Regions from separate parts of the Homo sapiens genome. Here all the other regions are linked to region 6. The links are contacts of gene promoters, found by promoter capture Hi-C in blood cells and fetal thymus (Javierre and others, 2016). All regions are on one chromosome and are shown on one strand. The core of a region is centred on a gene start or on the middle of the fragment in contact, and the rest is flanking DNA. Distances in the headings are between cores, read along the strand shown.

Evidence for each region. Contacts are between HindIII fragments. The CHiCAGO score rates a contact against its expected background, and 5 or more counts as called.
Region 1: a contact is called between a fragment that was not itself captured here and the fragment with the promoter of PRDM1 in region 6, in 1 of 17 cell types (M0 macrophages). The highest score is 5.4, in M0 macrophages.
Region 2: a fragment that was not itself captured here is called in contact with the fragment with the promoter of PRDM1 in region 6 in 4 of 17 cell types (M0 macrophages, M1 macrophages, monocytes and 1 more); the score reaches 9.3 in M0 macrophages.
Region 3: a fragment that was not itself captured here is called in contact with the fragment with the promoter of PRDM1 in region 6 in 1 of 17 cell types (monocytes); the score reaches 6.8 in monocytes.
Region 4: a fragment that was not itself captured here is called in contact with the fragment with the promoter of PRDM1 in region 6 in 2 of 17 cell types (M1 macrophages and M0 macrophages); the score reaches 5.9 in M1 macrophages.
Region 5: a fragment that was not itself captured here is called in contact with the fragment with the promoter of PRDM1 in region 6 in 7 of 17 cell types (activated CD4 T cells, M0 macrophages, monocytes and 4 more); the score reaches 8.3 in activated CD4 T cells.
Region 7: a contact is called between a fragment that was not itself captured here and the fragment with the promoter of PRDM1 in region 6, in 1 of 17 cell types (activated CD4 T cells). The highest score is 6.3, in activated CD4 T cells.

Annotation. Positions count from the first base shown.
Region 1 is chr6:105,621,500-105,625,026 of GRCh38, reverse strand. LINC02836 (long intergenic non-protein coding RNA 2836) reads left to right here. Exons shown (of 6, transcript XR_942833.3): 3 at 2,239-2,296; 4 at 3,453-3,527. Among named protein-coding and RNA genes, the nearest start is that of LINC02836, 9.1 kb to the left of the region's middle. The HindIII fragment of the contact is 4,504 bases long and covers 1-3,527 here.
Region 2 is chr6:105,603,848-105,606,988 of GRCh38, reverse strand. No RefSeq gene overlaps it. Among named protein-coding and RNA genes, the nearest start is that of LINC02836, 27 kb to the left of the region's middle. The HindIII fragment of the contact is 4,818 bases long and covers 1-3,141 here.
Region 3 is chr6:105,680,550-105,683,730 of GRCh38, reverse strand. No RefSeq gene overlaps it. Among named protein-coding and RNA genes, the nearest start is that of LINC02836, 50 kb to the right of the region's middle. The HindIII fragment of the contact is 2,026 bases long and covers 314-2,339 here.
Region 4 is chr6:105,580,663-105,584,188 of GRCh38, reverse strand. No RefSeq gene overlaps it. Among named protein-coding and RNA genes, the nearest start is that of LINC02836, 50 kb to the left of the region's middle. The HindIII fragment of the contact is 151 bases long and covers 1,345-1,495 here.
Region 5 is chr6:105,710,589-105,713,657 of GRCh38, reverse strand. No RefSeq gene overlaps it. Among named protein-coding and RNA genes, the nearest start is that of LINC02836, 80 kb to the right of the region's middle. The HindIII fragment of the contact is 3,567 bases long and covers 1-3,066 here.
Region 6 is chr6:106,084,878-106,088,181 of GRCh38, reverse strand. It overlaps PRDM1 (PR/SET domain 1), which reads right to left and starts at 1,846. Exons shown (of 7, transcript NM_001198.4): 1 at 1,587-1,846. The coding sequence starts at 1,628. RefSeq lists an enhancer at 1,499-2,218. The HindIII fragment of the contact is 5,820 bases long and covers 1-3,304 here.
Region 7 is chr6:106,534,023-106,537,092 of GRCh38, reverse strand. All of the region lies in intron 8 of CRYBG1 (crystallin beta-gamma domain containing 1), which reads right to left. Among named protein-coding and RNA genes, the nearest start is that of RTN4IP1, 94 kb to the left of the region's middle. The HindIII fragment of the contact is 1,777 bases long and covers 377-2,153 here.

The DNA.
Region 1 (3,527 bases), core at 829-3,328, 460 kb after region 6:
TTGTATGGTTAAATTCACGTAAGAGAGTAATACATGTGCTGAGCAGAAGGGGACCAATTTACACTTTACCAGTTATGTAAGCAACCATGCAATAAAATTATTTTAAGTTAACAAACACCACATTCCTGATTAATTGCAAAATGTCTTAAGTCTCTTTTAAACGATTCTCTGACAGCTACTCAATGGGACTGCCCTTTCATTGGGCTCTTCCTCCAACCCTCAGTTTCCTCATCTGGAAAACAGAGATATCACTTTCATGCACTGATTTGGTAAGAATTAAATGAGATACCCTCATATAACAGATCTAATCACAGCATCTGTTCATAGTAGGCAGTTGGCAAATCTGAGCCACCTCCCCACCTCACCCCCTCCAACATTTGCCCATAATGCTTCTCCTTCCCTCAGGCCCAACTTCCATCAAATATTGTAAACTTTCCTAGGAACAGAACCTTGTCCTTTATTCCCTATGCTTAGAATAATGTGGCAAAGGCTGGGTATAGACAAGTCATTTAATAGTTGACCTTCCATATTAAATTTCCATTTATATCTATCTATCTATCTATCTCTTTCTCTATCAATATTTTCCCTTGAGTCTCTATCTTTATACATATATACATATGCACGCATATAAGTATATGCACATATATATTTTAGCCTGAAAGTTTTTGCATAAATTGTAGCAATAAAAGTACTATCTTTGGAGAAGAGATAAGAGATAAGAAGTCTTGGTTACTCAACATGTTGAGCCATGATTCTTTGGCAAGCAGGACCTTAGTTCTTAGGGTTCCATCTGGAAGACAAAGCGTCCTCCTTTTTGCAATAATGTCTTATCTGTCTATGAAAGATAAAGGGGTCATCTGAAGTGGCAGAGACCTGAAATGTTAGTTCCAAGAAATTTTGTTGCTAGTTTTTATTATTCTTCTCTGGATGGAATGTAGCCCCACAATTAAGTTTGCTATCTGACTCGGGTTTTATTTCACTTCATTCTCAACCCATCTAGAGTAGTTTGTAGATTAGTTTTTGTGTTTTGGAAAAACAAAGAATATTGGAAGATTCAAATAAGGCTTTAAGGAAATTCATCATTAATTTGGTAAATAACATCTTCCTAGAAAGAATGTTTAGCTTTGGCCCTTTCAATATCATCAGTTTTAGGAAGTGTATTATCTAGTTTGGTAGCTCAGTTGTAACTAATGTCTTCTATAATTTCCTCTTACTCACATGCCACAAAGATATTTCCCTGGAGCCTCAATGATTTCACCCCTGGATATAGATGGTAAAGAAGAGAGTAGTACAAAATGAAGCTGAAGAAACAGGCTGTGATCAGATTATGACAGGCCTTGAGTTTTGGGCTTTATTTTGCGGACAAAAGGGAATTTGAGGTACAGAATAGTGTGAGGGAAAGCTAAAAAGCATGAAGAGAATGATGTTAAGGTTTGAATTTCAAGGCCATGGGAAACCTCTGAAGCATTTTAAGCTAGCAATGGTGGACTTGAATATATTTGTATTTTTAAACAACAAAGATGTTTGCCTTGTGAAGGAGGTTGAGGTGGGAATGTGGAGAGAGAGAGGCTAATTAAGAATATGGCCTGTGATGGCCCACATGAGAACTGGTAGATAGTAACCCGGTTTAAGCAAAGGAGATGGTGAGGATAAAGGTCACATTCAAGAGACAGGAATATTTCCTATGTAGGAAATAGGATTCCATGTGATTCTGAGTATGAAGAGAAAGAGGAAGAAAATAAAGATAATACCCAGTCAAAGAACATAAGTTATTTAGAAACTGGGTATAACTGATTTAAAATCAATGTGATTCTGAAAACGGTGGTCTCAGTTGGTTTCTCTTATAATATCACACCCACCACGAAGCTGTGCACACAAGACACCATCTACAAATTATGTCGGCTGGTAGCACACTCTCCAAAGGAAGGCACCGAGGGTGCTTCCAAAAATACAGACCCACCTCATCTGCAAATGTTTTCATGGCAATGGATGACTTACCCTATTTACAAAACTTAATCTACCTGATTGGTATTATTCCACAAAGATTTGATCTGGCGGGCAGTGAATCCAGGTCCCTCAGCTTTTCCTTCTCTATATGAATCCTCCACCAGATATTTAGTAAGACAGTGACATGCAAGAAAAATCATCATTGAGAACTTTGGAACACAGTGGGAGGTTTGGTTGAAGATGAGTTTATAACAGCTGTGGAGATAAAACTGTAAACATTTACTTTTTCAGCTCCTTCCTGTCCTTTATTTCCATTGATAAGAAAAAGCTGTCTGTAACTGATTTCCAGGTAAATCTTAGGTTTAAATCCCCACTTTATTTTTCCTTTTACTCATCCCGGAAATAAAAAACCATCACAGTTCAGTTCAATTCCTATACGTGTATAGCTCAACTTTTTGTTCCTGTTGATGACATTTCATGTCTAATGATTAAGAAAAAGTAATGGGCATATATTTCTTTGACAATCTAGTAAACAAATCAGTTGAAAAACCATGCCCTGTCTATCTCAACTGTTGTTAACATTGGGTCAAAGTACAGGAAGAAAATGAACCCTTCTTCAAATTCCTGCCCTGCTTAGCAAAATCTCAGTTTGGAGAGAGCATATTCAGGGTAAGCCCTCTGACTTGGTTTATATCCCTATTGGCACATCACGAGATATTGGCCAGGTTGCTTAACTTTTCAGCATGAGCTCCCGTATCTGCATAAGGGGCATTTGATGGTGATCATCCCTTTAGCAAGCATTTATTAAACGTCTATTTTCATGTATCACTGTACTAGGTACTATACCAAGATGCCTACCCAAGAGAGATATGGTAAAAAAATCTATGAGATAATGAAAGTAAAATGTTTTAATGTCCTTGAAGTAATGAAACTATGCCAAGCCAAGAGATTATGAATTTAAAATTTCATGAGAGTGAAGAAGGACTTTCACAGTTTTCATAACTTTAAAATTTATTTAGTTGATATGGAGATCGGGATTAATCTCAACAGAGAAGAGTTAGCATTGCACAGAGAAAACTGTTCAGGACCGAGAATATATGTGCAGATCACAGAGTCACAAAGGAGGTCAGGATAAAGAGAAAGCGCCAGGATAATGGGCTGCAAATTTATCATAAGCCCTGGCAAATAATGACATAATTTTGAACAAGATCATTGAGTATAAAGAGTACTATGCTAAACAGATTAATATTTGGCCTTTCTCCCTGCTGGTCTGTCCTGGGAAGCTGAACCCTATAGGCTTTGTTACCCAGGGTCCCGTGACACTGGCTTACATTGAAATTTGTCCAATGAGCAGCACCAGCAGGAGATCGGGGTGGAAGGAGATAGCAATCAGAGTATTTCTTCCAGGGCTCCTACCTTCCCTGGGTGGGTCTCTGACAGTGGCTGTAGCCTCTACTAGCTTACACTGGATTCAAGCAGCACTATTTCCTCCTCTTGTTCTTTAGGCCGAAGTACAAGAACAGCTTCCCACTGTCGCTAGTCTCTGGGTGCCTCAACATCCCTTGTTTGTTTCTTTAACC
Region 2 (3,141 bases), core at 114-2,613, 480 kb after region 6:
TGTGTGATTAATACTCTTCAGGCCCCAGGGAAACACTGTGGCACTTCTTTCGCCTGATGTCATCAGGACAGAAGGACTGTGACCAAATGCCATGAAGTCTTGCAGGCTGTGCCACTGCTGACAGCTGAGATGGGCGATGCTTTGGGATATGGGGAGTATTAGGTCGCAGGAGCACTTTGGTAAAGAAAAAGACAAATTAATTAACTTGTCAAGTCCTTTCAAATCGCAAAACCAAGTATCACTTCCCAGTAGTGCTGAGCTGCAATTTTCTTGCTCCTCTTCAACTTTGAATTGGTGGTTCCAGAAATATTTAAGAGTTAGTGTGGTATTTACCTTAGTTTCACATGGCGGCTGAGGAACAGTTTACAATATTAAGCACTTTGTGTTCTTTAATTTGTACATATGTATGGTTAAATGTGCCATTAGGGAATCGTGATATTCTTTACTTGAACATAAATATTAAAGCATATATTGTACAGACCTCAATTCATACAGTGGGCCCCACAAATACTATATGTGGATCTGTTCAGAGGTTATTACCTTACTGTGGGGCCTTGGACAGGTCATAACTTCTCTGGGCTTCTGGTTGCCCATTTGTAAAAGAAAAGCATAGGACTAGATGCTCTCTAATGTGTTTTTAAGCTCTATAAATTATTTTTAATTATTCTACTTATTTATAAATAAGCATATATTTCTTATAAGCCTTATATAAACTTATGTAAAACCTACCATAAATCTTATCTAAAACCTACTATAAACCCCATAAACCTAGTATGAAAATATAAACTCTTCTTTTACCTCATGTTGCCTATCCAGCCTCATTTATTCATTCATCAGACATTTATGAGGTACCAACTATATGTCAGATGTGGTGCTGTATTTGGGTGAGAACACAACAATGAATAAGTTACAGTTTATGTGTTCAAGCATGTCATAGACCAGAGGATGCATAATTAGATTACTGTCTTAGTTCATTGAGATTGCTATAACAAAGTATCTTAGGTCAGATAATTCATAAACAACAGAAATTTATCTCCACAGTTCTGGAGGCTGGGAAGTCCAAAATCAAGTTGTCACCAGATTCAGTGTCTCTTGAGGGCTAGCTCTCCAACTCACAGATGGCCGAAGGGGTGAACAAGTCCCCTTGGGCCTCTTTTATAAAGACACTAATTCCATTAATGAGGTTGGAGGCTTCATGACCTAATCACCTCTCAAAGGCCTTACCTCTTAATATCATCAATTTGGGGGTTAGATGTGAACTTTGCAGGGGAGAAAAACACTCCAAACATTGCAGTTACTATGCTCCAATATTCAAGTGCAGTGAGAGCAAAGCCTGCAGGACTAGGGGGCCCACAAGGGGCTGGGCAGCTTACCTACCCTGATGGACAGTGTGCCAGGGAAGGATGTTTGGAGAAGGCAGTATAGGAGTTGAATTTTAATGGATAATCAATAGTTAGGCCAGCCAAGAGAAAGGGGAAAATGTCTCAGGTAGAGAGGGCAACAGAAACGAAGGCACAGAGGTGACAGAGATCATTTAGCATGAGGAATGCAAACCTATTAGCATAGGATGCCCACAGAAGCGTGGGACTGAGCCTGGAGCAACAGGCAGAGGTGACACTGAGAGTCTTAGTTGGACTTCATTCTGTAAGGTGAGAAAAAACTCCAAAAGGTTATAAACGGGAATGACATAATAGGTATGGGTAATATATGGATCACAATTTGACAATGGTCCAAAAAGATAAATTAATGGAAGCCAATGAGAGGGACAATTTAGCAGGGTACAGACATCATCCAGGTGAGAGATCCTAGAGGCCTAGGGTGGGTCAGTGACAGCACAAATGGAGAAGGGGGCAGGACTGGAGATACATTTTGAAGAGTGACATGGACCCATTTGGATGACAACCAAATTCAGTGTCCATTTCTACATTGGGCCATCTGATTTTCCCCATGTGAACAGCAGAAAGAAAACTTTACCAGCTCTGTGTTCACAGATCTATGTCTTTAACATGATACTTACTTATTTTATACATTTGTACAAACACAAACTATTATTTTATTATGATGTGCAAGTTGAAAGAAGAACATGGATACCCTGCATTCCAAGAGGATCTTCATTGATCCTCATCAACTTCGGAAGCTGTTAACAAATTATGTCCAGTTCTCACTTTGTCATTTCTCATTCATCCTAATAGTGCTTTTGTGCAGGGGACGTTTGCACCATTCAACAGGACTCGTGCCATCCACCACACAGGTTTTCAGTTTTCAACAGAGAGAGCCTGTTCACAGCCAAGAATAGCAACAAGTCACTTCAATTTAGGCATCTGCAACTCTGTGTGTAAATAAGTCAGCAGCAGAAAATTGAGTTTTCTTATGAAAGGCAGATGCTTTTAAAATTCAAGGGGCAAGTTCTTGACACAGCAAAGGGGGTGACATTGTCCCGAATTATCTGGAAAGAACTGATGGCTGTTGGCAAGGGTTGGTCAGTCTGGGAAGGCAAGGGTTCCACCAGGGAATCAGCAAGCTGCCTTCAGGAAGCTCCAGAGGGAAGTCAGGTTGCAGTTCCAGCTAGAGCTCTGCTATCCAAACGGCATTTAAAGGGATCTGTGATTTACACAGATTTATGTAAGACTGAAGATACTTTATGAAATTTGTTCCTACAATTACATTTCCTAGGAATTACTAGGGATTAGAAAGTCACTATTCTCAGACACTCTGCCGCATAGTTTTCTGTAAACAGTTTATACAGAAATAAAGGAGAGGGAATGATCAGTTGCCAATTTGTGCAAGCTGTTCTGTGCAGAGTCTCACTATGGCCAATTCCTTGTGATTTATGTGCCAACTGCCTGTAGCCAGCTGGACAACAGTCATCCTGACTCTTTAGTGCTTTCAGAACATTTTAAAAGTAAGCCCTAATAAAAGGCTTCCTTTCTATTATCCCTGTCCTTTGGGATAAGAAAAATTCCCCACAGAAATTGTACACATTTTGCAAAAACCATAAATCCTGAGGGTGACATTTTAATGTCCCAAAGGCAATGCATGATAAATGTCTCTAATAAGTTAGAGCCTTTCTGGGATCCGTTGACCTTTGAAGTCTCTCCAGTAGATAGGTTTTGTCTCTTACTCAAAGCTACCATATATTGA
Region 3 (3,181 bases), core at 77-2,576, 400 kb after region 6:
ACATATGTAACTAACCTGCACATTGTGCACATGTACCCTAAAACTTAAAGTATAATAATAATAATAAAATTTAAAAAAAGGAAAACAAAAACAAAATAAAACAAAAAAGAATATCAGCTCTGGTGGCAAGTCTGTTGCTAGAGTATTAATTTTGTTTTTTCAATAACTTTTGTGGGTTTTTGTATAGGTAGTGTGTGACCTATATAGGACTAAGTCTGGTTTTCTAGCAAACTAACCAAATTTATACACCCAAAAGACTATTCTCCTTCAAGGTGGTACTCTTGAGAGAACACATATCTATTCAAATAAAGCTTAGAATATTTTGACGAATGTCTCTTTGAAATCACCTTAACAACTATTTGTCAGCTGTGTAAGGTAATTGACCTCATTTCTTTAAAAACAAAACTTCATATTAATTTTTGAATAGGCAATACACTTGCATAAATGTATATTTAGACTCCAAATATTTGAGGATATTTCAGATATCTTTCTTTTATTGATTTCTAATTCAACCCCATAGTAGTCAGAAAACATTATTTGTATGACTGATTGGAATCCTCTTAAATTTAGTAAAACTTGCCTTATTCCCCAAAATATGATCTATCTTAATAAATATTCTACACTTAAGGAAATAAATATGTATCTGCTGTTGTTAGGTGTAGTGTTGTATAAATGTCAGATCATTTTGTTGATGGCGTTGTTCAAATCTTCTATATTCTTACTGATTTTTTGCCACTTTGTTCTACTAGTTATTGAGAGAAGGTCAGGAGAAATCTATGACTATCACTGTGGATTTGTCTATCTCTTTTGGAAGTCCTATCAGTTTTTGCTTCATGTGTTTTAAACCTCTGTTTTTAGGTGCAGAAACGTTTAGAATATGTTATCTTTTAAACCCTTTAATATATTGTTATTATTTTGCTTTAAACAATTATCTTTCAAAGAGATTTAAGCAATGAACAAGTCTTTTATATTTAGCCACATGGATACCATTTCCAATAATCATCATTCTTTTTGGTAGAACCAGATTTCCATCTTTTATCCTCTTTTGTTCTGCCTAAATGACTTTCTTTTAATATTTTGTGTAGTACATGTCTGCTGGTGATTAACTCTTTTTGCTTTGTAGATGTGAAAAAGTGGGGTTTATTTCCCACATTATTTTTGAAAAATTTTCACTGGGTTCAGAATTCTAGGTTGATTGTCTTTTCTTTTTTTCTTTTTTTTTTTTTTTTTGAGACGGAGTCTCACTCTTTCGCCCAAGCTGGACTGCAGTGGCGCTATCCCGGCTCACTGCAAGCTCCGCCTCTTGGGTTCATGCCATTCTCCTGCCTCAGCCTCCCGAGTAGCTGGGATTACAGGCGCCCACCACCACGCCCGGCTAATTTTTTGTATTTTTAGTAGAGACGGGGTTTCACCGTGTTAGCCAGGATGGTCTCGATCTCCTGACCTCGTGATCCGCCCGCCTCGGCCTCCCAAAGTGCTGGGATTACAGGCGTGAGCCACCGCACCCAGCTGGTTGATTGTCTTTTCTTTCAATACTTTAAAGATGTTTCTCTACTATCTTCTGGCTCGCTTTTTTTTTTTTTTTTTTTTAACAAGACTACTTGCCTTTTTTTTTTTTCTCTGAGTACATTTAATATTTACTTTTTTTCACTGGTTTTAAGTAATTTGATTATGATGTCCTTTATAACTTTACTCATGTTTCCTGTGTGTGGGGATTCTTGGATTTGTGAGTTTGAAAATTTCATCAAAGTTTGAACATTTCAACCATTTCTCAAAATTCTTTTCCTACCTTCCTCCTCATCTCCTTCTGGGACTCCAGTTGTATCTATATTTGGCTGATGCCCTTTTTTGCCCCAGAGTTTTGCTCCTTGTGTTTCATTTTGGATAACTTCTATTGTCAAGTCCACCAATCTTTTCTTTCTGCAGTGTCTAATCTTATGTTAATCCCATCTAATATATTTTTCATCTCATAAATATATTTTCATTTCTAGAATTTTGATTTAGGCTCTTCCATATTTCTACTTAACATTCTCGCTCTTTTCTCTAGCTTCTTTGACAAAAAAAAGTTTGTAATTCACTGCTTCAGTGTTTTTGTTTACTAATTGTATTATCTGTATAATTTCTGGGTCAGTTTCAATTGATTTATTTTTCTCTTTATTATGAGTAATATTTTCCTGTTTATATGCTTGACAATTATTGATCACAGTTAGACATTGTGAATTTTACTTTTCTATGTGCTGGATATCTTTGTACTTCTGTAAATATCCTTGAACTTTCTTCTGGGACACAATTAAGTTACCTGGAACAGTTTGAATATTTTAGGATCTTGCACTTAAGCTTTGTTACATGGGATCATGGCAGCATTTATTTTAGGGCTCTTATCCAATCCTTCTGAGTATTCTAGCTGATGCTCCTAGGATTATGAGGTTTTTCATTCTGAATAATGAGAACAGAAACTATTCCTGGTCTTGTGTAATCTTCAATGAATGTTCTCTCCAGTCATTTTGGGTGGTTCTTTCTCTAGCCTTGAATAGTTTCCTCAAGAGCATGTGCTAATCATTATCCAGGTGAAGATTTAAGAGGACGACTCTTCAGATTTCCATAATATTCTCTCTATATATAACACAGCAACACCTATAAACAAGACTGACTGATTAGACTGTGACTACTTCTCTCTGTGTTCCTGTCTTGGTTTCCCAGAAATATTGACCTTCACCTTCAACTCCACAAGTCAATATTTCCTGTTCTTGCTTTCAACTTGATGTCACTGGATTCTTTCAAATCAGTAATGTCTCCAGTTTGTTTGTCTGTCTGTTTGTTTGTTTGAGACAGCATCTCACTCTGTCACTCAGGCTTGAGGGCAGTGGCATCATCTCGGCCCACTGAAGCCTCAACTTCTGGGGCTCAAGTGATCCTCCTCTGCCTCCTGAGTATCTGGGACTACAGATGTGTGCCAGCATGCCTGGCTAATTTTTGAATTTTTTGTAGAGACAGGATTTCACCATGTTGCCCAGGCTGGTCTCAAACTCCTGAGCTCAAGCCGTCTGCCTCCCTTAGCCTCCCAATGTGCTGAGATTACAGGTGTGAGCCACTGTGCCCAGGCGACATCTTCATTTTGATTGAAAGATTTTTGTTCCTGCAAGGAAATCAGACATTTCTCTTATTTTCTCTGATTTCTTGA
Region 4 (3,526 bases), core at 171-2,670, 500 kb after region 6:
TTCATGTCCAAATTAAATGAAAAGGCTACGTGACGCTAGCTATCGAATGTATTAGGGATCTGTCCTGGTATTAGCTACCTGCTGTATTAGTTATCTGTTGCTGTATAACAAGTTACACAAACTTGGTGGCTTAAAGCAAACGAACATTTATTTTCTCAGACGGAGTACTGTAGGTTAGAAATTTGGGAGTGGCTTAGCTAGACTGTTCTGGTTGGTGTCTCTCAGGAGGTTGCAGTTGAGATGTTGTCTCTCAGATGATGTTGCAGCTCATCTAAAGGTTGGACTGAGGCTTCAGGATCTGCTTTCATAGCAGCCACTTGCAGGACGAGCAAGTTAATGCTGGTTGTTGGCAGGAGGCTCGTCGCTACATGAGCCTCTTCCTGGGGCCATTTGAGTGTCCTCATCACATGGTAGCTGGCTTTCTCCAGTGAAGAGAAAGAAATTTCAATTGATTGTGGGGCACATGGAAAATGTTTCAAACTTCCATAATGATCCTGGTCTTACTGTTTTGGCCATGTTGCCAAAAATGTATGATTTCCAGAGTGTGACATTCTACTACTAGGTTCTGTCGTGCCAAATGATTCAACAAATGTTCATCCCCAACAAAAGGACAAGAGCCCCTGTGCTTGTGGAGGTCCATACACAGACAGTAAATAGGCGGACTAGTGGCTAATTAATACTTTGGCACAGCTTCAAGAGAACAAGTACAAATATGAGAAAGCAAACAAAAAGTCCTGGGAGATTTCATCCATGAGACAAACACAATAAATTAGTGCTAAACGGCTCGACAAAATATTTGGAGCTCATATTGGTAGTGAGACTTGGCTTCTAAGTAGCCTCAAGGAAGCGGAGACTCAAAGGCTCTCAGCTGTGGATATCAGCAAGTCCTGGTCCATAGCAGCAAGGGTTTCAGATGAATCTTGATGAGACCTCATTTAATAAAACCCTCTGTCCAGAGACCATCAGGAACACACCGGTAGTGTGGAGGGAAAAAAGTGAGACTGATTTAACCTGTTGCAGCAAGGGAAAATACAAAACAAAAGAACCAGGGAATTTGTTGGAAAAAAAAAAAAAAAAGTGGGAGGGGAGCTAAGAGTAGGCTACTGGTAGGGCCCGGGGGCTGGAATTAGTCTATAAGATGATCTTAGCATGGATTCTTCCAAACTTGCTGGAATAGTCGGTGGTCTCTTCTTTAGCCCTTTAGGGCCTTTGCAGAGTTACTGTTTCATCAACCTGACCATGATCCTATCTTGAAACACAGGGATTCAAACAAATAAGTATTACACAATTTTGACCTTAAATCATTTGTCTGCTTCAGTCATAATGTAGATGGTTTTGCAAGCTTTGGTCTCTGTTTCAAGTCTCATCCTCAAAGGATCGCTTTGTATTCCTTCATGTCTTATATACAGGTCTCTAACCAAGGTGTATGTGATGAAAACACCCCTTCTCTCCACAAATGCTGTCTGATTTTACTAACAAGACTCAATCCCAAGCTTGATGGAAAAGGAATGGCTCAAAACTGGATCAATTCTATCATTGCCTTTGCACATAGTGTTTTCTCTCATCATAATTCCACTGCAAAATTCCACTCTTTCTTTAAAACCCAGCTCAAAACTACAACCTTTAAAATGCATTTTCCAATGTCTTACCCTCTTCTCTTCCACATCATCACCCTCGTCATCATCACCCTCTCTGCCTGTAGGGTAAAACTGTGCTTCCTCTTCGTGTTTCTAGACTCACTAGAGTGCTTGGTATATAGCACATACTTAGTAAATATTTTTGAATTGCAGTGGGAGTATCTAATTAATTTGGCAGTAGGTATTGTTAAAATACTTTAATATTCCTGTGATTTCAGCTCTTTATAATTCTCCTCTCTGAATTTCTGTTGCAAAGTTTGGCATTGTTTTCTTTTTTTTTTTTTTTTTTTTTTTTGAGACGAAGTCTCGCTCTGTTGCCCAGGCTGGAGTGCAGTGGCGGGATCTCGAGTTTGGCATTGTTTTCTGACAGTTTCATAGATGTTTATTTTTTTTTATCCCAACTATTAATAGATTATGAGCTCCTAGAAACAGACACAATTTTTTTTATTTTTTCGCACCCTCCACCCCATTCCCATGGCCCCTCAGATTTAAGACAGTTCTCATACTTCCTAAATGTTTGTGAGATTTGATTATCTTTTGAGATATTGACTTATATTGTCTCTGGCATTATCCTCACCCCTCATTTTCTTCCATTCAAGAAAGCAGCTAGCTCCAAACTTGATGGGCTCAGGGAAGGGTTGGGGCCAGGTGTAAGGCAGCAGTAGAGCACCAGTGGTTGTGGTTTTATTCTCTAAAGGCCTAAACACTTAGGTGAATGGAGTAAGTTTGGTAGGTACATGAATGGGATTCCTAAATATAGACGGAGCAACTGGAGAGGTGGGGAGAGCAAGTGATGGCCAGGCCTCCATTTCACTGCCTCCAGCTAAGAGAGATGGGGTGAGAAATGCAGGGAGAAAACAAAAAGAGGTCTGCAGGTCCAGGAGTAGTGTGGACCCAGGTCATGCATGCAAGGCAGCAATTCCGAGGATGTGGCAAACCCTCCAAGAAAAATGGCTACAAGATTCATCTAGCCACACTGGCCAGCAGTGGTCTTACAAAAAGCCCCTGTCCTCATGGCATTGTCTTAAATTTCTAAGCAATGTCCACTGCATTCTTGAGTATTAAAAGGATTGGGGTGAAGATACTAGAAGGATTGAGAATAATAGAGTTTGGAATCTGAAATTAAAGTCTTGTAACCCGAGGTGTTCATGCTTACCTGAATATGTGGGGTTTTATTTCTCCCACATTTGTTTAATTGATTAATCTGTCAGTTATGTAAACTTGAAAAAATAATTGTCTAACACATCTAACAAGGGGGAAAAAAGCTCAGGTCTCATTACATTAAAAGGGAATACATTGCATAATACTGGATCCCAGCTCTGTTACTAATTAGTTGTATAACTTTGAGAAAATTATTTCACTGTTTTTTGTCCCAGATGTATCAAATATTTTTAAAATAGATAAAATAATGTTAATATTATCTACCTTGTTGGGTTGATGTGAAGATAAATTGAGCTAATATCTATAAAGTACTTTGCAATGGTAGCTATCATATATTAACAGCATAAGCCTTTTTTGAGACTGAAGAACCTTAACATTCATGTTGACTAATTAGTATTGATCATATATTATAGTTTTGACAATAATAAAAAATATTTTTCTTTTAAAAATTAATACTTCTAAGGAAAATTCAGCACTATTTAAGAATAGTCAAAAACACTTCCCCAGTGTTAAAAATTCTCAACTAAAAAAATATAAAATAGGAAGAAATTCATGCATTCAGAGACCTTTGAACATTAAAAAGTGTAGAAAAGATGAAAACACAAATAAGTTATGAGATACTGTCTATTACAACTAAGGTTGAGTTAAATTGTATATATTCACATATACACAAGCCAGAAAAGGAGTCATTTCTCCCAAGATGAATTTATAACCTATATGTCAATGAA
Region 5 (3,069 bases), core at 34-2,533, 370 kb after region 6:
AGATTCTTTTAGGATTTTCCCTTTATCACTGGTTATCTTTTTTTATTATTATGTGTCTTGGTGTGTTTTTCTTTATATTTATTCTGCTTGGGGTTTGCTGAGTTCTTGAACTTGTTTCCAGTTTTCATCAAATGTGAAAAATTTTCAATCATTTCAAAAGAATTAAACTTTTGTGTTCTCCCCTTCTGGAACTCCATTAACACATACATTATACTTCTTAACATTGTCCCTCAGATGATTGTTGCTCTATTCATTTTTTTCCCTGTGGTTTTTTGTGTTTTTTTTTGTCCTTCATGTTGAACAGTCTGTATTGCTTGTCTTCAAGTTCACTGATTTTTTTTTCTTTTCTGCAGTATTGAATTTGTCTTTGATTTCATCTGATGGATTTTTCATTTAACATATTGCATTTTCCATCTTTACAATTTCATCTGAATCTTTTTTTTTTTTTTCTTTTGAGACTAAGTTTCACTCTTGTTGCCCAGGCTGGAGTGCAGTGGTGCAATCTCAACTTCCAGCTCACTGCGAACTCTGCCTCCCGATTCAAGCAATTCTCCTGCCTCAGCCTCCTGAGTAGCTGAGATTACAGGTGCCCACCACCATGCCTGGCTAATTTTTATATTTTTAGTACAGACAGGGTTTCACCATGTTGGCCAGGCTGGTCTTGAACTCCTCACCTCAGATGATCCACCCTCCTGGGCCTCCCAAAGTGCTGGGATTACAGGTGTGAGCTGCCACACCCGGACTCATCTGAATCTTTTTAAATATCTTATGTTTCTCCTCACTATGATTGTACTTTTCTCTACCTTCTTGAACATTTGGAGCACATTATAATAGCTGTCTAACATTTTTGTGGGGTAGTTCTGTCGTTTCTGGATATATTTCAATTTGATTAGTTTATCTTCTGATTATGGGTCTTGGTTTTTGTTTTGTATGCCTGATAATATTTTATTGGATGCCATACATTTTGAATTTTATGATTTTTACTTCCAGGTTTTGTTTTATTACTTTAAATAGTGTTGGATTTTGTTTTTTTGCTAATGAGACAGATTAACATATATTTCCATTAAAATGCCCTTTTCTGTTTCATTAAGAATACAATTACTTATTCAAACCTATATATATAATGTCATTAAAATACGCACATATATTTAAAAGATGTATATATATAGGGCAACCTTTAAAGACATGCATGTTTAAATAAATTATATGTCTTATTCAATATATTTGATTACTTTTTGTATCTCTAAGTTTTTGTGTATCTATCCTTTCATGTGCAAGAGAGAGAAAATATTTTTTTAAAGCAGTAATTGATTCTAGCCATGGCTGACTCCTAATGCAATTACATAATTTGTATTCGAAATAGATTTTTTTTTTAGTGAATCCAATTTATTGGCCCCTTTGAATGTAGAAGTTAAAGTTTTAACTACAAGTTCAGTAAGGAGAGAGTGACATAAAAATATTACTTCACTCATTCATTTATTCACTGAACAAATATATAGGGAATGCTTATGTTTACCAGGTTCTGTTTCTACATTTGTAGGCCCTGAGATATACAAGTGAAGAAGACAAGACATTCTCTACCCTCATGACACTTCGATTCTAATAAAGGGAGACAGGCAACAAACAAATCATTTTTAAAATAAATAACAAGATTTCTGATGGTGGTAAGAGCTCTGGAGGAAATGAAGGGAAGGGAGAGCAACTATAGATAGCTAATTCAGTGATAGCCCTTTTGAGAAGGTGACATTTGAGCAGACACTGAATGATGACAGAGAGAAGAAACATAAAGAATATACACGGGGGAATAGCAAGGATAAAGGCCCTGAAGTAGAATGAGCTTACTGTATTTAAAGAATAACAAGCAAACTAGGGCAGGTAGAGCAGAGTGGAAGATGATGAGGTCAGAGAGGCAAATGGGAGCCAGAGCATGTAAGACCTTGCAGGCTGTGGCAAGGAGTTTGCATTTTATTTTAGGTGAGACGCTAGTGGAGGGTTTGGAGCAGGAGAGTGACACAGTCAGACTTATGTTTTAAGATTACGTTGTAGCTGGCTATTGTATGACCAATAGACTCTAGGATAGGGAGGATGGAAGATGGGAGATCAGTTAGATGCTTTACAATAGATCAATCCAGAAAATTGAAATTATTTACATGTAAAGTTAATAGGCGTTTGAAAGGAGGAGGGTGGAGAAGATGAGTCAAGGAAGGGAGGACTGACCCATTAGTCAGGAGACTGGAACTCATGAGAAAAATATCTAGTGAGAAATAGCAACTGTTGAGATTCCCAGTGTCAGTGTGTCTGAGGGACATTTTAAAACAAGGCTGTCTACTAGTCCATTTCAAGTTGTTTGTGGGTCTATGATGTAAGCTCACTCTACTATCCCAAGCCTTAGAAAAAGTTTGCCGCACATACTGTCCTGCATTGCTAGTACTTTGAGGGTAGAAAGAAATCAATCTTGTGTCCTGTGCAATACCACATAGCATAGGAGAAGGAGAGTGTGCAGAACGTGGCAATATGCTTCACAGGGAAAACTAACCTAGTGGAATTGAGAGTACACAACCATCAGTGATGAGCAAAAAGTCAAAATTTCTCAAAGATTCTCAGGAGAGTTTGGGATGGATATTGGGTTTCCCAGCCCATATGTGATAATGGTTTGAGCTGACTTATTTGCCTCTTGAAAGGCAAGGTGACCTAGCAGATTACCAGTCACACAAGTAACTGAAGAACAAAGAGTAGTTTGATGGTGTCTGGCTATGTCAGTAGCATAAATCATTATGATGGTTTTTCCCAGCCAGATGTTTTTCCCAGAAGTTACTTATTAATAACTAATTTATATGGTCACTGACAAATATATATTGAACACCTATTATATGCCGGACATTGGATTAAGAACTGAAGCTACTGCACTAAACAACACAGCAAACATAGCATAATTTATCCTAGTTGGAGTAACTTGACTCCACTCAGTACTTCACAATGGCCAGGCATTTGGCTCAATTCAGGACTGGGCATTTTGATCTGGTGAGACACACAGATACCTAGGTTGGGCATTTGGGGAAATAAGCTTCC
Region 6 (3,304 bases), core at 597-3,096:
CCTTTAATCCCCATTGTCCCGCCGTTCCTGTGGCTCCTTCTGAGAGGCTATGACTAATACAGTAGTCTGAAGACTTTAAAAGCAGATGCAGAGTGCTTGGTACAGTTGAGAAAGAGCCAAGAAGCCGTATAAAGTAAACTGCCTTGAAAAGAAGCAAGGTTTTTAAATGCTACTCTTAGTTAAAAAAAAAAAAAAAAAAAAGAATGTGGCAACCTCACTGTGGGGAAAAGGAAAAAAAAAAAAAGAATCACCTCTGAACAATCCCTGGCTTTACCTCTCATGGCAGAAAAATGTTCTGGGCACACAGTCCAGTGTCCCAGAATGCCTGGGGTCATGGCCGCCAGACCCTCGGCACTGTGGAAAAGCTGCCTCAGAAAAGTGTCACAAACAAGGAGAGGAAGAGGAAGGAGCTCTGTCTGCCTCTGAATGAAGCTAAAAATGGAAAGCGCGTGTGGTGCAGGAGCGGAACCCAGCCTGCCTTTTCCAAATGGGGAAGACCGAACTTTCCCACCAGCTCCCAACGCAAAACAACTTTCAAAACAACTGCCTCCTCCCTCTGCTGCGAGCTCTCTTTCATCCTCTCACATGGAAGACTGAAAAGGGTTGCATCCTGCCAGCATCACTGAGCTACGGCCTCTTAGAAATCACTTGGACCACAGGAAAAGAGGAGGAAAAATGGGTGAAGGGGAAAACAGCCTGCAGTGTCTTCTGACTTGCAAGCATCTCATACCAAATTGAAAAGGCAAAAACAAAACATAAAACCGTTTAATAAAATTCCCTGGAGAGAATTCCTTTAGGAGTCCTCAGCTACAAATAGCACTTTCCATTTAAATCTGAAAGTGTATGAATTCCCAGAAGTCACTGATGTACTACAGTTTACTGTAACTAAAGTTATAACAAATTTAGAAGACTTGGAGGACAAGCTCTGCTTCCACTTGTACATTGATGAGGATATTCCCCCAAAATCCTCCCTCACACTCAGAAAAAAACTGTTTTCCAAAGGCAAAAAAAGGTAAACAACTTCTGTAAGGGTTTTCTCATATAGACATGTTTGATAAAAATGAGGAATATGGGTATCATTTCCATGTAAGAATGTGTGTTTGTTCAAATGTAAACATAACATTCTGTGGAAGTCCTTCAAGGAGGTTTTTACATTCTTCCACTTCTCTAAATAGGATGCTCTTAAAAAAAAAAAAGTTGGATGCAAAGTTGTTTTTCCCTCAGTTATGATTTAAGCAAACCTGCTTATTTTTATTTAGTTCCAACATGTAGAGTCATGACGCCAAACACATGTTAAAAATAAAATAAAATAGAAAACTTCAGCCAACCCGGAATAGTTTGACGAGTGTGAGCTGGAACCACTACTGAAATTTCAATGAATTGGCAATTATGTCTAGAACTGAAAGGGTTAATGATTCATAAGGAAAGTCTCACAAATGTTTGACAGCACTAAGTGCACTAAAGCAGAAGCATGTTTCTACTGCGACATTAGCCAAAAAAAATTAATAATAATAACAATAAAGGAAAAGAAAATAAAGTTTTCAGATCAATTTCAGAATTAAAAAAAAAAAATTCAAGTTCCTTACCAAGGTCGTACCCACACGTTTTTCCAAGCAAATATCCAACATCTGAGAAAAGTCTCGTTCATCTCTACCCAGTCCACATTCTCCCCGCGTCCCCCGCCAGGCTGAGCCGCACAGACGCGCACCTCGGCGGTCCCTCCTCGCTTCGTCCGGCCGCCCGGGCGCCCGCGTCCCAGCTCCGGGCGGACAGGTGCCGCGGTCGCTGCTCTTGCCTCTCCGCAACACTGGAGGGCCGAGTGTCACGGCAGCACTTTGTCTGTGTTAACCGTCTGGCTTCCCCTCCCTGCTTAAGATTTCCTTAGCCACTCGGCTGCGCGAAGTGGGGGCGTGGCCAACGTGGCCAACACCACCTGGCCGAGCCCAGGGCTTTCCCCCAGATTGCTAGCACAGCCGCCGAGAGCTTCCTCTCTTCGCATGTGTATTTCAACATTGACTTGGAATCTTCTTACTTCCCTTTGAAGGCACTTAACCTCAACGCTTACTTGGGCTCTATTGTATTCTAAACACTCCAGATCGCCCTCCTTCCTGGCGCGGCAGAATTAGGGGGCGCACGTTCCTTAAATTAAGGAAACTTAAAATTTACCTACACAGTTTCTGATTTCTCAGCTCAAATCCCCAGGTACAAAAGACACAAATCTTACTTCAAAAGAGCAAGTTAAATTGTTTTTGCAGCTAGTGTAATACAGTGGAGCTGTCTGGTCCTCAAGCTGTTGTGTATGTAACGCACGTTTCCCCGCCCCCCGCCCCAAAAGTTGTAACATTCCGTTTCTCCTGCTAACGTTCAAACTTGGCAGAACTAACTTTCCTCTTTTAACTATTTAGTAAATAGGGAAATAGGCAAAAGTTATAATTCTACAGATTGTTTGTTTTCCTTTCCTCTCCTCCCAGAACCCACAGGCTGACTTCCCAGGAGTGTAAGTAAAATGTAGAGCATTAGTCGTTTCACAGTTCAGAGGAATATTGAACTGATCACTGCAAGTGGAAAGCGGTCGGAGGCAGTAATTAGTGGGGCTTATTCTGAGCCCCGGCCAGCTTTTCCTCCAGCCCAGTCAGTCCTCTGTTGAAGGAAGGACATCCTGTGATGATGGCATACAATGTCCTGTTTGTTTATTATTAAGAGCGTGGACCTTGCATTCCTGCTTCTCATTACAAAACAAACCAGATGCTTTACTTCCTTCAATGGTCTTGTGCCTTCAGCAAGGAATCCTTTAATTCAGAGAAACAATGTTTATAGCAAACACCCCATTTCAATTATTATTTAGATCATTGAAATCCAGGTCTTCCATTTTTCCTGCTTGCCTTACCATAGGTAGGTTTTTTTAAAATCATTTCTCCTTCGACCTGCAATGTCTTTTCTAACATTTTAAATACACGTGTGCACACACATCCACCCACACACACACCCACATACACACACCCAGTTCCAACCTAATGATACCAACTTAGTCATACAATGAAATGGACATCTGAGTATTTGTTTACAGGAAGAAATGAAACAAAGCAAAACAAAAGCCCAACTCAATCCTAAAAAATATGTCTGTTTATCTTTAAAATTTCTTTTCTCACTTTTAGAAAACTTTTCTAGAATTTTTTTTAGGGGAGAGGGGGAGAGGCAAAAGATTATTTGCCAGGAAATGGTGTCTAAAGTCTTGCTGCAATCTCTCTCTCAGTACAGAACAATTAAATTCCCACTAGGGGACATGATTAGCACACACTCGCTG
Region 7 (3,070 bases), core at 16-2,515, 450 kb before region 6:
GAATTTGTGAAAAAACCGAAAACATGAATGAATGCATTTGAAAAGACTGCTGTTCTGAAAGTTCTCCCTTAGTAAATGAGTGCTGAAGGCCTGCTGGGTAATTCAAACAGACATTTATTAATGCTGGGTGGACTTTGAATTTGAAAACTCATATGCAGAGTATGATTCACTTTTTCTAAATTCTGTTCCAATAAGATACATTATTTATGAGGCCATCAGGAGAGGGGGAAACTATCTCCAGGCAGGGTTATTTCAGTTTCTAAAGGTAATCTTTTATTTTCCCATGTACTTGGGTCATAAGCTTTCGCCAATATAGATTAAAAAGTACAACTTTATTGTCGTACTTAACAAACAGTATGATTATAAAGCCCAAGCTTATTTTTTAAACAAACAAATGTATACCTACAAATGAATATTGTTAAAGTAATAACAATGGCCATCTATATGTTTATTTAAAATATTTGTCCAATTACTCTTTTAGAAATACCCTTTGAGTCACACAAGAAAAATCAGTCTTATCTTGTTCACTTGCTCTTAAACAAAAACAGCACTTCCAGATGGATCTTAAGTTGTGTTCCCTAGACATGGCTGTACATGAATATTGGCCATTCACAGAAACCAACTGGATACTTGAAAAATTAAATATGAAGGTACTGACTTTGAGGTTATTCACAAGAGAGGGGGCTATGAATGTCAAAGGGGAAAATGAACCTTTACAATGGAAAGATGGAGGAGGCACCACTTTAACCAAGCAATCAAACTTGGTATTGCTAAAGGGCAAGCTAGTTAGCACATGCCACCTGCTGTGATACAACATAAATATATGGCACTATCTATATGAAGTATCCGTGCCAAAACTGTTTGGCCTGAACCTAACCATACCTTAAGACCTAAGCCCTAGTAGATAGGAAATTCGGGCAACAGAAGAACATGCTAAATAGTAGCATGAGGGAACACTCAGACAAATCTAGAATGTGGCACACTCTCTAAGACAGCTGGCCTAAATCTTTTTAAAAGTTAGTGGCTCACGCCTGTAATCCCAGCACTTTGGGAGGCCGAGGCGGGTGGATCATGAGGTCAGGAGATCGAGACCATCCTGGCTAACAAGGTGAAACCCCGTCTCTACTAAAAATACAAAAAATTAGCCGGGCGCGGTGGCGGGCGCCTGTAGTCCCAGCTACTCGGGAGGCTGAGGCAGGAGAATGGCGTGAACCCGGGAAGCGGAGCTTGCAGTGAGCCGAGATTGCGCCACTGCAGTCCGCAGTCCGGCCTGGGCGACAGAGCGAGACTCCGTCTCAAAAAAAAAAAAAAAAAAAAAAAAAAAAAAAAAAAAAAGTTAGTGGCTTGGGAAACAAAGATGGGGTATTTTAGAGATCTTTAAAAAGAGACTTAAAAGAGACAGAACAATCAAACGCATTTATGTGAACCTTGATTGGATCCTGATTTGAAAATGCAAATCTATAAGAGACATTCCTGAAGCAATTGGGAAAATTTGGTGATGGACTATTGAACAGATATTATCATGGACACTTTGTGAATTTTCTCAAGTGTAATAATGATACTTATGCAGGGGAATACCATTAGAAAGAGAGTCAGGCTGAATCCTATGTGGAATGAAGGGTCATGATATCTCCAATGTACATTGAAGTGCTCAGAAAAATAACACAAATATGGTAAAATGATAACAATTATTGGGTCAAAGTGAATGGTACATTGGTGTTCACTGAACTATTCTTCCTACTTTTCTGTATGTTTGAAAACTTTTATAATAAAAAATTGGGCTCTGATATGGTATATTCCACAATGAAATATACAGTGACTATTACACAGCAATGAAAAAAATACATAGAGATGTACCCATCAATATGAGTAATCTTAGGAGTGTGGTTACATGTGTAACCACGGTGGGCAGCAATGTTGGTAATGGTCTAGGTTGTAAGTTGGATGGTGGGTCCACGGGGGATTGTTTTATTATTGGGCTTCATAGTTCACATATATACATATATTATTCTGTATATGTCAAATATTACACAGTACAAATGATCAAATAATGTTTGTCAATTAAAAAAGAAGTCCCTTGACTTTAGAACACCTGCATTCTAGTACACATTCTGCTAACAGCTAACCCTAGTCTGGAGAAAGTGACCAAAGCTTGTCTTCCTCAGTCAAATGATGGTGTTGGGCCAGATCATCTTTATACTCCCTTTGAAGTTCTAAACTTCTTTGCTTTTGTTCGTCATAAATATACCACCCCCCACTTCCACCCCTACACACACCCCGCCCCCAAAAAACCCAATATGCTTTCACCTCTGGGAGGATGGGTGCCAGGATTAGCCAGCTGCTTAAAAGAAAGATTTAAAAACAAATTACTCTCAACAGAATCTGAAAGGCAAGTTTAGTTAGAAATCACTCATTTCCTCAAACAAGAATTTGACCAGACAAGTAACACCCTTATTTTGTGTATGAGTAGAAGAGCTTAATCTAGAGTGAATGGGCCCTGGAATAAATCACCTAATGGATTCTTAAGGAGTTCCCTCTACAGCAAAGACTTCTTATCCCAGTTCAGGGGAACCAGTGCATCAACAGAAGCAAAATGAGCTTCAGTACTTACTATCAGTGACATCTTCTCAACCCCTTGAGACTTTCCTTTGAGATCTATAAAAGCACTAATGACCTGGTGTCTAAGCTCACCAACCAAGTTCAACGAGCCCAAACTTTGAATTAACATCTGAGGCAGTGTTCAACAGAAATGAACAGCCAGAAAAGAAGATGCTCACCATGACACAAACCTGTCATAAATTGTAAGCTGTGACAGGCTGGTAACTACCACCCAGGAGGCAAAGCTAAACTTACTGCAAAGGTAAGAAATATCATTTAAGGTAGATTAATGTGCTTCAACATAGCCAAGCCTGAGTCATGGCACCTTCCAGACACTGAGATTAAAATATGATAACAGATGCCTTTTTCATTCTTTTCTAAGGAAAGTGGTGTTTCTCAACCTGACACCAATTCTTTAAAAAAAAGTGTATAGACTTCTTTCATGTAAAAAAATTAAAGGCAGCAAGAGATG